Linked DNA regions of Homo sapiens: region 2 is linked to region 1. Evidence: promoter capture Hi-C in human tissues and cell types (Jung and others, 2019). All regions are on one chromosome and are shown on one strand. The core of a region is centred on a gene start or on the middle of the fragment in contact, and the rest is flanking DNA. Distances in the headings are between cores, read along the strand shown. Region 1 holds the start of MAP2K5 (mitogen-activated protein kinase kinase 5). Region 2 overlaps SMAD3 (SMAD family member 3).

The links. Contacts are between HindIII fragments. The study calls those that stand out against the background at their distance.
Region 2: a fragment that was not itself captured here is called in contact with the fragment with the promoter of MAP2K5 in region 1 in 1 of the 25 tissues and cell types used here (dorsolateral prefrontal cortex).

What each region holds. Positions count from the first base shown.
Region 1 is chr15:67,539,466-67,545,165 of GRCh38, forward strand. MAP2K5 (mitogen-activated protein kinase kinase 5) reads left to right here and starts at 3,238. Exons shown (of 22, transcript NM_145160.3): 1 at 3,238-4,005. The coding sequence starts at 3,871. MAP2K5-DT (MAP2K5 divergent transcript) reads right to left here and starts at 3,165. Exons shown (of 1, transcript NR_186334.1): 1 at 1,603-3,165. RefSeq lists enhancers at 55-144, 2,178-2,678, 2,331-2,380 and a silencer at 3,254-3,373. The HindIII fragment of the contact is 7,088 bases long and covers 2,146-5,700 here.
Region 2 is chr15:67,075,031-67,080,730 of GRCh38, forward strand. The region is part of intron 1 of SMAD3 (SMAD family member 3); the gene reads left to right. Among named protein-coding and RNA genes, the nearest start is that of SMAD3, 12 kb to the left of the region's middle. The HindIII fragment of the contact is 3,879 bases long and covers 1,652-5,530 here.

The DNA of each region.
Region 1 (5,700 bases), core at 1,988-4,487:
CCTAGATCATGCCACTACACTCCAGTGTTGATGACACAGCAAGAGTACATCTTAAAAAAAAAAAAAAAAGTAAGGAAATGCTGACACATGTTACAACATGATGGACCCTGAAGGCATTATACCAAGTGAAATAAGCCAGTCACAAAAAGGCAGATACTGGATGATTCTATTTATATGAGGTATCTAGAGTAGTCAAATTCATAGAAATAGAAAGTTGATTGGTGGTTGCCAGGGGCTGGAGGGAAGGGGAAGTGGGCAGTTGTTTAATGAATATAGAGTTTCAGTTTTGCAAGATGAAAATCTGGAGATTGGCTGTACAACAGGATGAATGAATGTATGTAACACTACTGATCTGCACACTTCAAAATGAGTACAATGGTAAATTTTATGTGTATTTTATCACAAGGAAAAAAATCACTAGACATCTAACTTTTCAGTAATGTGTCTATTTTCAGTTAAATTTGCCAGTTAACTGAAGCCAATATAGGCCAGTTTTCATATTCCTTAGTGTTATCACACTGGTGCACTTACTGTTTTACCATTTTCCCTTCTGATTTCATTTTTCTGTTAGCATTTACTACTATCTAACATATATTTTACTCATTTGTCTGTGTTCCCCATCAGAATATAACTTCATGAGGGGAGGGATTTTCTATTACACTTAGTGAAAAGTAAATCCCTCAAGTAGGAACACTACAAGTAAGCACAGTTTTTTTTTTACAGTAAGTTTGCTTAATGGCTAGTAAACTATCTCAGCCAGTACCTGAGTGACTATTCTGACTTGTATCATTTAACAAGAAAAAAGGCCTGGCGCGCTGTCTCACGCCTGTATTCCTAGCACTTTGGGAGGCCGAGACGGGTGGATCACTTGAGGTCAGGAGTTCCAGACCAGCCTGGCCAACATGGTGAAACCTCGTCTCTACTAAAAGTACAACAATTAGCTGGGCGTGGTGGCACATACCTATAGTCCTAGTTACTTGGGAGGCTGAGGCAGGAGAATCGCTTGAACCTGGGAGGTGGAGGTTGCAATGAGCCGAGACTGCGCCAGTGCACTACAGTCTGGGTGACAGAGTAAGACTCCGTCTCAAAATAAATAAATAAAATAAAATAAAATGAAAAAAAGTACTAAATGCAAACTTCTTAAGATCACATGCAACTTCGATGTTAAATACTAAATATTCCTTAAATTTAGACAGTATTCAATTTGGTAAAGATCAGAAAGTTATATTTTGTCATTTATGATATCAAGTGGAATGTATTATCAGTGATTATGATGCTTCTCGCAATGAGAGTTATAACTTTCTGGAAAAATCCTTGCTCAAATCATCAAAGTTAAGATTTCTTACTACATAAAGGCTATGAAGAGCTGACGTGTAATTATATTGGCTCTGCAAATATTGGAACAGAAATATGAGTTTGCCATTAGTGTAAGAAAAGCTTCAGAATATGTATGCAAATTTGGCAAATTGAGTTGGTTTTCCCCACGGTACTTCGAATAAAAGAGACATTTTAACAAATCACAGGTTCATAGAAAATCTCTAGTTTCGTGGTCTATTTTCTAAAATAATAGGAAATGAACTTTTAATAAAAGTACATGAGGACTTTTGATGAACGGTTTATTTTTCACAGAAGTGAAGTGCAGGTGAAAAGGGGAAATTCCTAGAATATCTGAAGGATCTGACTAAATGAATTTCTACCTAAGCTATTGATTTACAGTAACTTAAAATGTGATAATTTATCTCCTACAATGGCCTTTCAAATTAAATATAAAAGTAACTCAGAGTAAAGTATGCAGAAAAAATTTTGGTATTGTAACTGAAAATGACCAACATTAATTTTTTTCTCTCACATTAATCAAGCACCTTACTGTTAGAAGGGAAACTGACAAGCCTCCTCAACCGAGTTTATACAAAATTCAACCCCAGAAAGTAAAGCCAATTCGTGCACCTTCATAAGAAAGAAATAAAGGACGAACCTACACATTACAATTTGTAAAGAAACTTCTGTAGAGGCACCATCGTTCTACAACCTTATGCACTTTAAAATCTGAGGTAACAAGGCATTTGAAGATAACCAAGGTTGGCCGGGCGCGGTGGCTCACACCTGTAATCCCCCCAGCACTTTGGGAGGCTGAGGTGGGCGGATCACGAGGTCAGGAGTTTGAGACCAGCCTGGCCAACATAGTGAAACCCAGTCTCTACTGAAAATACAAAAATGAGCGGGCACGGATGGCGCACGCCTGTAGTCCCAGTTACTCGGCAGGGGTTGGGGGCTGGTGGGGGTGGTAGTGCTGAGGCAGGAGAATCGCTTGAATCCGGGAGGCTGAGGTTGTGGTGAGTAGAGGTCGCGCCGTTGCACTCCAGCCTGGGCGACGGAGCGAGACTCCGTCTCAAAAAAAAAAAAAAAAAAGATAACCAAGGTTTATTGCTACTTCCGTGATATCACCATATCACCAACTGCGTAAGCAGTGCTATTTAGTTGAAAATACATGGACTAGACCGAATATTTCTGCAACAGTTTAATAAGAGACGATGATGCGACTACTGCAGCTGTCCCCAGGCAATTAAACTCTTCGGCGAATTTCTTTACTATTGCTTTTGAACAGGGAACTGTTTGCTATTTTAGGGCACTCGTGCGGTAAAGAACTTCACTGAAAAATGCAAATATGTTTTGCTAATGTGGGAGAAAGATGATGATCCTCTGAACCTGTGACTTGGAAGGGGGGATAAAAAAGAACTATTTCTTGAATTCTTGCCTTGCTCTTGCTGATTCGATGCACACAACCCCACGAACATTCAGATTCATGGCTTGACAAAGTGGGGATAACCGGGAGCTGCAGCCCCGTCTTTGAAGCTTTTGTAAAGACAAACGGTCTGCAATGTTAAGCCTTAAATTGGCTTTTGGCGGACTCCAGCCTTTTACCCTTCGTTTGGTAGATGTTTTCACCTCGCTGTCATTAAGCAGGGTCAGGAAATGGAAGGGCCGTGACCGGGTCGCCGCGGGCGCTCTGTGGGCGATGAGGGTCTCCTGAGCGAGCAAGACCAGTCTCTCCCCGACTCGCCACGCGCCACGCGCCGCGCGCCGCGCGCCGGTTCCTCGGCTTCCCACGCCGGGGGCGCATCCTCCCGGGAGCTGCTGCCCTTTTCCAACATGGCGCCGCGGGAGGCGGGTCCCGCTCGTCGGCTCCCGGGGTTCCGGCGCCGCGCGTTTTGGTTCCGGAGTAACAGTGTCGCCGCCGCCTTCCTCCTCCTCCTCTCGCCGCTACCGCCGTCGCCGCCGCCGCAGCCGCCGCCAGTCCGCGCGGCCTCGGGTGGCCGGAGCTCAGCCTGCGCGCGCCGCGCCCTGTGTCTCCGGGTGGGGCAGAAGACTCGCCCCTTGAACCTCCCGCGGGGACTCTCCGTGGTGTGGCGGCCCTGGGGCTCTTTCTTAATAGCCCCGGACTGAGTCCCCTCCAGTCGAGGACCCTCTCCTAGTCCACTGACGAGCGGTGGACACCTGCCGCTGTATCTCCCCCAAACCGAGTCCTTGCCCTGCTGCCTCCTCATACCCACACGGCGGCAGAGACCTTCACCATAGCGTTCGCTCAACTCCAGAACCTTCCGACCTCCGCTAGTTCCTGCGGGCCTTTGCCCGCTTCCCGGTGCACCCTCCCCGGGAGACACCTCAGACCCCCGACAGCCTGGGCAGGCTCGGTGCCTGCGGGTGCGTTCCTGATCACCCCTCCCCTCTTCCCTCCCCCTCATCCTCCATTCCCTTGTTTTCACCCTCTGTCCTCTGCCCGTCACTCCCCTTGTCACCTCTTGGAGCCCCCTCCTAACCAGCGGCCAGTGGGTTTCCCATACCCCAGGATGTGAGCCTCTTTAACCTGTAATGCTGTGGCTAGCCCTTGGCCCCTTTCCTGCCATGGAGAACCAGGTGCTGGTAATTCGCATCAAGATCCCAAATAGTGGCGCGGTGGACTGGACAGTGCACTCCGGGCCGCAGTTACTCTTCAGGGATGTGCTGGTGAGTGGTAATCTCAGTGTCCGGATGCCAGCAAGGGGGACTCAGGGACTTGAGTAGTCAGCACCTTGACCACTGGTGACCTGAGCCAGTGGCAATGGCTACTGCTGGCTTCCTGTGGAGGCAGTTTTATTGCTTCAGGCACAGCATTGATAAATTGCAACCACTAAAACCTGGCAAATGTCTAGGACCCTGGGGAGATAGATCAATCTGACTGAACCCCTGCCCTCAGAGAGCTCATGGCCCGGGCTGGGACACACATATAGACACAACCACGCAAATGCAAACTGCTGAATCTAGAAGAGAGGTTTTTTCCCCCCAAGTGTTTCGGGGAATGTCCTTGGACAGATTCCAGCCTTGTTTTTCTACTGAGTTCTCTGAACTTGGTGACCAGCTGAGAAAGGGAAAAAGGACAACTTTAACTTACCATGTTTGAGCACACTGTTTCATTAATTTATTTTGAGACAGGGCCTCACTCTGTCGCTCAGGCTGCAGTGCTGTGGCACGATCTCGGCTCACTGCAGCCTCTGCCTCCTGGGCTCAAGCGATTCTCCTACCTCAGCCTCCCAAGTAGCTGGCACATGCCATCACACCTGGATAATTTTTGTATCTTGTAGAGACGAGGTATTGCCATGTTGCCCAGGCTGGTCTTGAACTCCTGCGATTTGCTTGCCTCGGCCTTCCCAAAGTGCTGAGATTACAGGTGTGAGTTACTGTGCCCAGCCTGAGCAAACTTAAAGCATCATTGAATGTAAGACATTTTACTTAGAAAAAAATGCTAACCATGACAGTATGACACATCATCCGTTATTAAAATGAGTCCAGTTTCAGAGACGGTAAAAGTAAGGGAAAATGTGCATCTTAGAATTGGTGATATTTTACATTCAGATTTTTCAGAATATATTTCAAATAAAATGATGGAATTTTAGAGCAGAGTGTAACACTGTAGGTGGCCTGTTCAGCTGATGTTTCTTTTTTGCAGATAGTTACTGAGGAGCAGTGAGGTGAAATGGCTTTTCCAAAGCTGTGAGCTCCTGAGTGGGAGAGTCAGTACCAGAACTAAAATTTTGTTTCATTGACTTAGTAGGTTTCTTTCCCTACATGTTGCAGCCGCTTCTAATCTTTCTGGTATTCATTTGAGATAGACAGGGTGCCTTGTGCCCATTCTACATGCAGAATAACTGAGGCATGGAAGACAGAAGCGGACATTCCGAAAAGCACATCACTACCTGCAAGTTAAGAGTGGGCAAGGTGGCAGGATCTTGGGAAGAGGAAGATTTGTGATGTGATTTTTCATTGTCTTGGGTAACTTAATCAAAATTTGATTTCTATAACTTCATTTTGAGTTCTAGATGTTACTGACTGCCCAGGCCATGCAGATTTTTGGGTGCCTTGACCAGGAGCTTTCCATATTGTGCATCAAATGCCATCCTTCTCTTTGTATCCGGAGTTCTCCACACAGTCATGCACATACAGATTTCCCCTCATGATAAGGCCCAGGCTCCTTCATGTGGTCCTCTGGGCACATCTGGATTGGCCCCTGTCTGCCTGGCACCTGTGTCATCTCTCTTCACGGCCCCATAAACTTCTGTGCCTCACTTACATAGGTTGATTTTCATTTCTCCCAGGTGTCCAGGCTGTCTGCACTCTGCTCTTCACCGGTCAATTCCCACCTGTCCTTCCAAGCCAAGTTGTGCT
Region 2 (5,700 bases), core at 2,341-4,840, 460 kb before region 1:
TCAACTGGACATTTGAAAATAGTAATGCTTTTTGGGTGTGTGTTTTTTAAAGGTCTGTTTTTACGCTGTCACTGCTCAAAAATGCCAAAAGGCATTTTTTCCTTAAAAAATCACCTCTGGGCTAAGCCCAAATGTGGAGTAATGAATCCAGAAAGGACTTTTTGAGTAGTTACAAGTGGCTGAAAGCAGGCACTGGTGATGGAAATTGGGTTTTTCCTTTTGCTTCAAATCTTCCTGGTTGTAAACTTTTTCTTACCCTTATTGAAGTCAGACTCAAGGTGGGTCTAATTTCTCCCAGCCCATGGGAAGGCAGAGTGAATTACTGCTTGTTGTGCCAACCCTTTACATTTTGTGTGTGGCTGTTTGTCTCTACCCAGACAGGTTCTTCACATATTACCTGGGGAGCAGGAGAGGGGGAGGACAGGAAGAGCACAGTTGGGCAGAAAGAGCAAAGCCTCTCAAGTCTGATGGGTTTGGGTTTGAGTCTGACAGTTATTAGCTATGTGGTGACCTTGGGTACTTTGCTTCAACTTATTGAGCCCCAGTTTCTGCATCTGTAAAATGAGGATGAAACTACCTACTTCATAGAAATCAACCCAAGTGGCCGGGCACGGTGGCTCATGCCTATAATCCCAGCACTTTGGGAGGCCAAGGTGGATGGATCACCTGAGGTCAAGAGTTTGAGACCAGCCTGACCAATATGGTGAAACCTCGGCTCTACTAAAAATATAAAAATTAGCCGGGCATGGTAGCGGGCGCCTGTAATTTCAGCTACTCAGGAGGCTGAGACAGGAGAATTGCTTGAACCTGGGAGCCAGAGCTTGCCGTGAGCCAAGATCGCACCATTGTACTCCAGCCTGGGCAACAGAGTGAGACTCTGTCTCAAAAAAAAAAAAAATCAACGCAAGTGAGATAAGATGTATCAAGTACTTTGCCAGTATCGATCATAATACATAGTAGATGCTTAGTAAACGCTCATTTTTCCTTTCCAAGGGGAAATTTGGCAGATGATGTCCGTCGACTCCAATAGGTGATCCCCTTCCCATCCCGACACACTTGCTCACAGAGCATTCTCCTTTGGAGAGTCTCAGTTGATATAGGAAAAGGATCTACTTCAACACACACAGAGAACATACAGACATGCCACTTGTTGATGTAAGGCTTGGCAGGCTATTGAAAGAGAAACAATTCATATTCTTAGGCGGTTCTGCCCTCCCCCATCACCTTCTCTATCATTATTCTTAAAAATTTGTTTGGTCGACTAAAAATAATAGTACTAAAAACAAACTTCGATGAATCAGGTCTCCTGGGGCGGGGGATGGGTAAGATCCTGAAGCAGAAACGCAGTGACTCACGCGCCTGTCACTGATAGCTGCCCGTAAGTGCATGGAAGTGCATGATGTTTATTGTTGCTGGTGTTTTTTTGAGGCCCAAGTTGGAATGCACTTCCGGCTCCCCCTCAAGTACTAGCTTACTGGTTAGGTGGGCTGTTGAGTGAGAATGGTCAGGTCCAGAAACTCATGGCTCTGAAATGACCCAGACGTGGTGGCTATACCCTTGACTGCCCTCAGATACGTGCAAGAGGGAGCTCACGCTTCAAGAGTCATGCTTTGGCCCTCCACCTGGCTGTGCTCCTCTTACTGGGGCAAGGAGACTGTAGGGCCAAGGGACAGGCCCATCTAGAGCAAGCACTTCCTTTTTCCAGATCATGCTCAGAGGCCTGACCCTTCCAGTTCCCTGCATCAGTGTCTTGAGCCTGTTTCCAAGTCCTGCGTGGGCCTCTTCCCCAGGTCTGTTTTACTTGAGGGCAGACTGTGTTGGCCATGGACAGCATGTGTACCTGTGGGACCAATGGCTGGGCAAGGGGTGCAGGGGCATGAAGGAATTGGCTAGAGCTTGGACTTGTGGCCTGGGGACTCTACTTGGGTGTGCACAAGGCCTCTGAAAGTTATGGGTGGTGCTAGGGGTGGGCTGAGATCTTGGGCTGGGTCTCTCTGAGCTTCCACATTCCATTGTGAAACCAAGAGGTCAGGGAATCCTAAACTCAAACCTGGACTTATTAAAGTATTGGTCAAGGCAGGATGATAGAACGCATTCTGTGTAACCGTTTGTTACCTTGATTTGTCTTTAAATACTACATATGGTGTGTAGGCCTTCCTCTGTATTTTTGCTCTTAGGGCAGGCATTTCTGTATGTATGTATGTATGTACGTATGTATGTATGTATGTATTTATTTTTGTAGCATCCGCTCAGTTGCGTGGCCACAACTGAATCCCAGTCCAGGTGGCACCATTATATGGGTAGCATTTTGGAGATGTTCACAGGAATTGATTTCCCTCACCCTCAACCCAGGCCAGAGTGAATTTAATGCAGATGAGGGAGAAGGTGCTACATATTATAGCTGCTCATTCAAAAAGTGGAGCAGAGAGCTGGACCACTGAATGTGCCTTTGTTTGCTGGAAATCTTTATTAAGTACCAGAGATATAGAGATGAAGTTGTGTCTCTGAACTGCTCAGAGGCAAAAAAGGGACACCAGTAACCACAGTTATGGTGGGCCTGTGGAAGAGACACTATAGTGAAGGTCAAACAAAATATTTGGGAGCCTAGAGGAAGAACAGGTCTATTTCTGGAGGTATCAGAAGGCTTCACAGAGGAGGCAATACTCAATTGGGGCCTTGAAGGATGGATAGGAGTGTAGGAGTGGAGTGGGAGGCAGCACAGAGCACAGACCAGACTGCGGAAGGGCCTGACATCTAGGGAAGGCAAGACAGTTTAGGGTGGCCAGAGTGTGGATGAGGGAGTGGCCAGAGAGGAGTTGGAGAAGGATGTTGTCAAGGGCTTTGGCTTGCCAAACTTCGTACTTTGTGTTTGGACCTTGCTCTGTAAGTGTCCAGGAGATTTTAAAGCAGGGGAGTGGCACGGTGAAAGCCACCACTCTATCGTTTCTTGTTTCATTTCCTCCTCTTACCCAGTGGCTGTTAACAGCAGGTTTTCTGCCCGAGTTATCCAGGTCAGAGTCATAATCCCTTACAGTACCATGTGGACAGCTTTAGGCTATGTCTGGAGCAGGTTGAAGATAGTGTTTTGTTCACTGTCAGGAGAGAAGACATGTTGTTCAGCCAGGAGGGCTCAGGGACCCCAGGCGTTCAGGTAATTAGCCAGTGAGTCATGTCAGGCTTTTGATATGGATACCTTGGGAAACTAAGTGGGGTGTTGCTGGCCTCCATGCAGATGCCTGGTCTACCCAAGCACAGGCCCCCAAATTAGATCTCGGCCTCTGCTGGGTCTTCCCTGTGCCTGACACAGTGCCTTCATATGGACCGTCTCTGGTCAGTGTTTTCAATTTCTTTGTTGATGATCATCAATCAAGGCCAGGCTTTCCAATTCCAGACCACACTGCAATCAGTGGAAACTACCTAAATTCAGTACTGCAGACCCATAGCAGGATGTATGTTTATTGAAAACAGATTATATTCCTTAATGAGAGACTAAAACAGCATGTTTAAATCAGTATTCTTCATTCCTTTTATCATTGAGAGATTGGTTATTATTTACCTCGCCTTTAGAGGGTCAGCTTGGTGGTGGTGGTGGTGGTTTAAGTTGCTGGGTTTTTAAAAGATTGAGTTTCATGTCCAAGGACTGATTCTACTTCATGGGCTGTTTTTGAAAACATTGCTAGAAACCTCTTAACTGAAGGCAAGACCAGGGGCAGCCTATTGCTGCGGAGTGCCCTGGGTTCAAATCCCTGCTCCCCAACTTACTGCGGTGGTGACTGTGGACATGTTGTTTAACTTATTTGAGCTTCCTTTTCCTCATCAGTAAAATGGGAAAAACAATGACCTCCCTCAAGGAGGGATGTTATTGAAGTTATTTACTTAAATCAGATTAGATTTATTTTAGATTAAAAGCTTCTTGCAAGCTGTGAAATGTTTTGCAATGTCACATATTATTATTTTTTTTTTTTGAGACGGAGTTTCGCTCTTGTTGCCCAGGCTGGAGTGCAAAGGCGTGATCTTGGCTCACGGCAACCTCTGCTTCCCGGATTCAGGCTATTCTCCTGCCTCAGCCTCCCGAGTAGCTGGGATTACAGGCATGCACCACCATGCCTGGCTAATTTTGTATTTTTAGTAAAGACGGGGTTTTTCTATGTTGGTCAGGCTGGTCTCGAACTCCCGACCTCAGGTGATCTGCCCGCGTCAGCCTCCCAAATTGCTGGGATTGCAGGTGTAAGCCACCGCACCTCGCCCCCCGCATATTATTTCTTTATGGTGTAGAACTCACTAATACTGCTAAAAACCCTTTCTGACAGAGATGGGAGTTAAGGCTTCTAAGTTCACACCCAGATTTCCACAGAGACCTTAGAGACAATCATAAATATTGCACAAAATTATATTGGAATATGAGCTCGGGGCACATAGGCTCTGGTGCCTTGTACTAGAAGCTTAGGTGAGCTGTTACTCTTGGCCATGTCCAAGCATTTGACTCAGAAGATGGTCGAGTCAGCAGTGTTGACTGTTAGCAAATCACCTAAGCCCACTCACATGGGGTGATCCTGGTACGTGTTGCATGGACTGAGTGTCAACTGCATGCTGAGTGTATGCCAGAGGGGGTGATCTCCTTGATCTTATTTACTTACCTACAGTACTCTGGGTACTTATGTATTTATGTTTACAGAGGAGGAGGCTGAAGCATTGAGGGGTCAGTGGCAGAACAGGAATCTTAACTCTGGTCTCTGGTTCCTAGTTCTCTGAGCTCTACCCCATAGCCCCTCAAGAAAGGATGGCCATTGTTGTCCTCATACAAAAAGCTATGACACTGCTATCATTATTCTCATTTGGTAAATGACAGAAACAAGGTTCAGATTACTTAGGTAAGTTGCTTTAAGTCTCAGGCTAAGGGCTGGAGCTGGATTTGCCACTGAAGCTCTACACCTTCTAGAATCTAGGGTGACTACATAATTTATCAAACAAACCAGGATGTTTCCAAGAGTGAAAAGGGGCAGCATTATTAATTATGGCCACTATTAATTACGGTCCTTGGCCATAAATCAGGACCGTCCAGGCAAACCTGGGTAATAGTCACCCTGCCTCTGGTCTTGATACCTGACCAAGGTAATGGAGAATTGGATCCGCCAGCTCATGTGCTGTTGCTTAAGTGGAAGGGAATGTGCAAATTATGTCCTGCTATTCTAAGTGAAAGGACTTGCCCAAGGTCATGCAACAAGTTGGCAATGTAATATTTTAAAACTGGACGAGATGTTGAAAACATGGTAAAGTTAGCACTAGAGCTTAATTAACTGGAGTATGAGTTAGGGAACATTTGGCTATGCTGATGTCTACTACTGAAGGGAAAGGAGGTGGAGGTCAAGGTCAGGTGTGTATGGAGCAGGTGGGGGTGGCAGTGGCAGGGCATTCACGTGGCTCTACTATGTCGGCACCATCATCAGGCCCTGTCCCTTTGAAGTCCGGGAGATGCCACTAGGCCCAGTGCAACTTGGATGATATTTAATGGCCAAGAGCAGAGACTTCTGGGACCTGACTTTTCCTGCTCTCCACTTTACTTTAGCTCTGGGCTTCAAAGGGACTATTGGCTGGGAGTGGTGAAAGTTTAGTGGATAATCCTGCTGAAGAATTTTGGAAGGCCTTGAGGAAGGAATTAAAAATAACAGTAAGCATGCCTTTTCTTTCTCTTTGATTGTG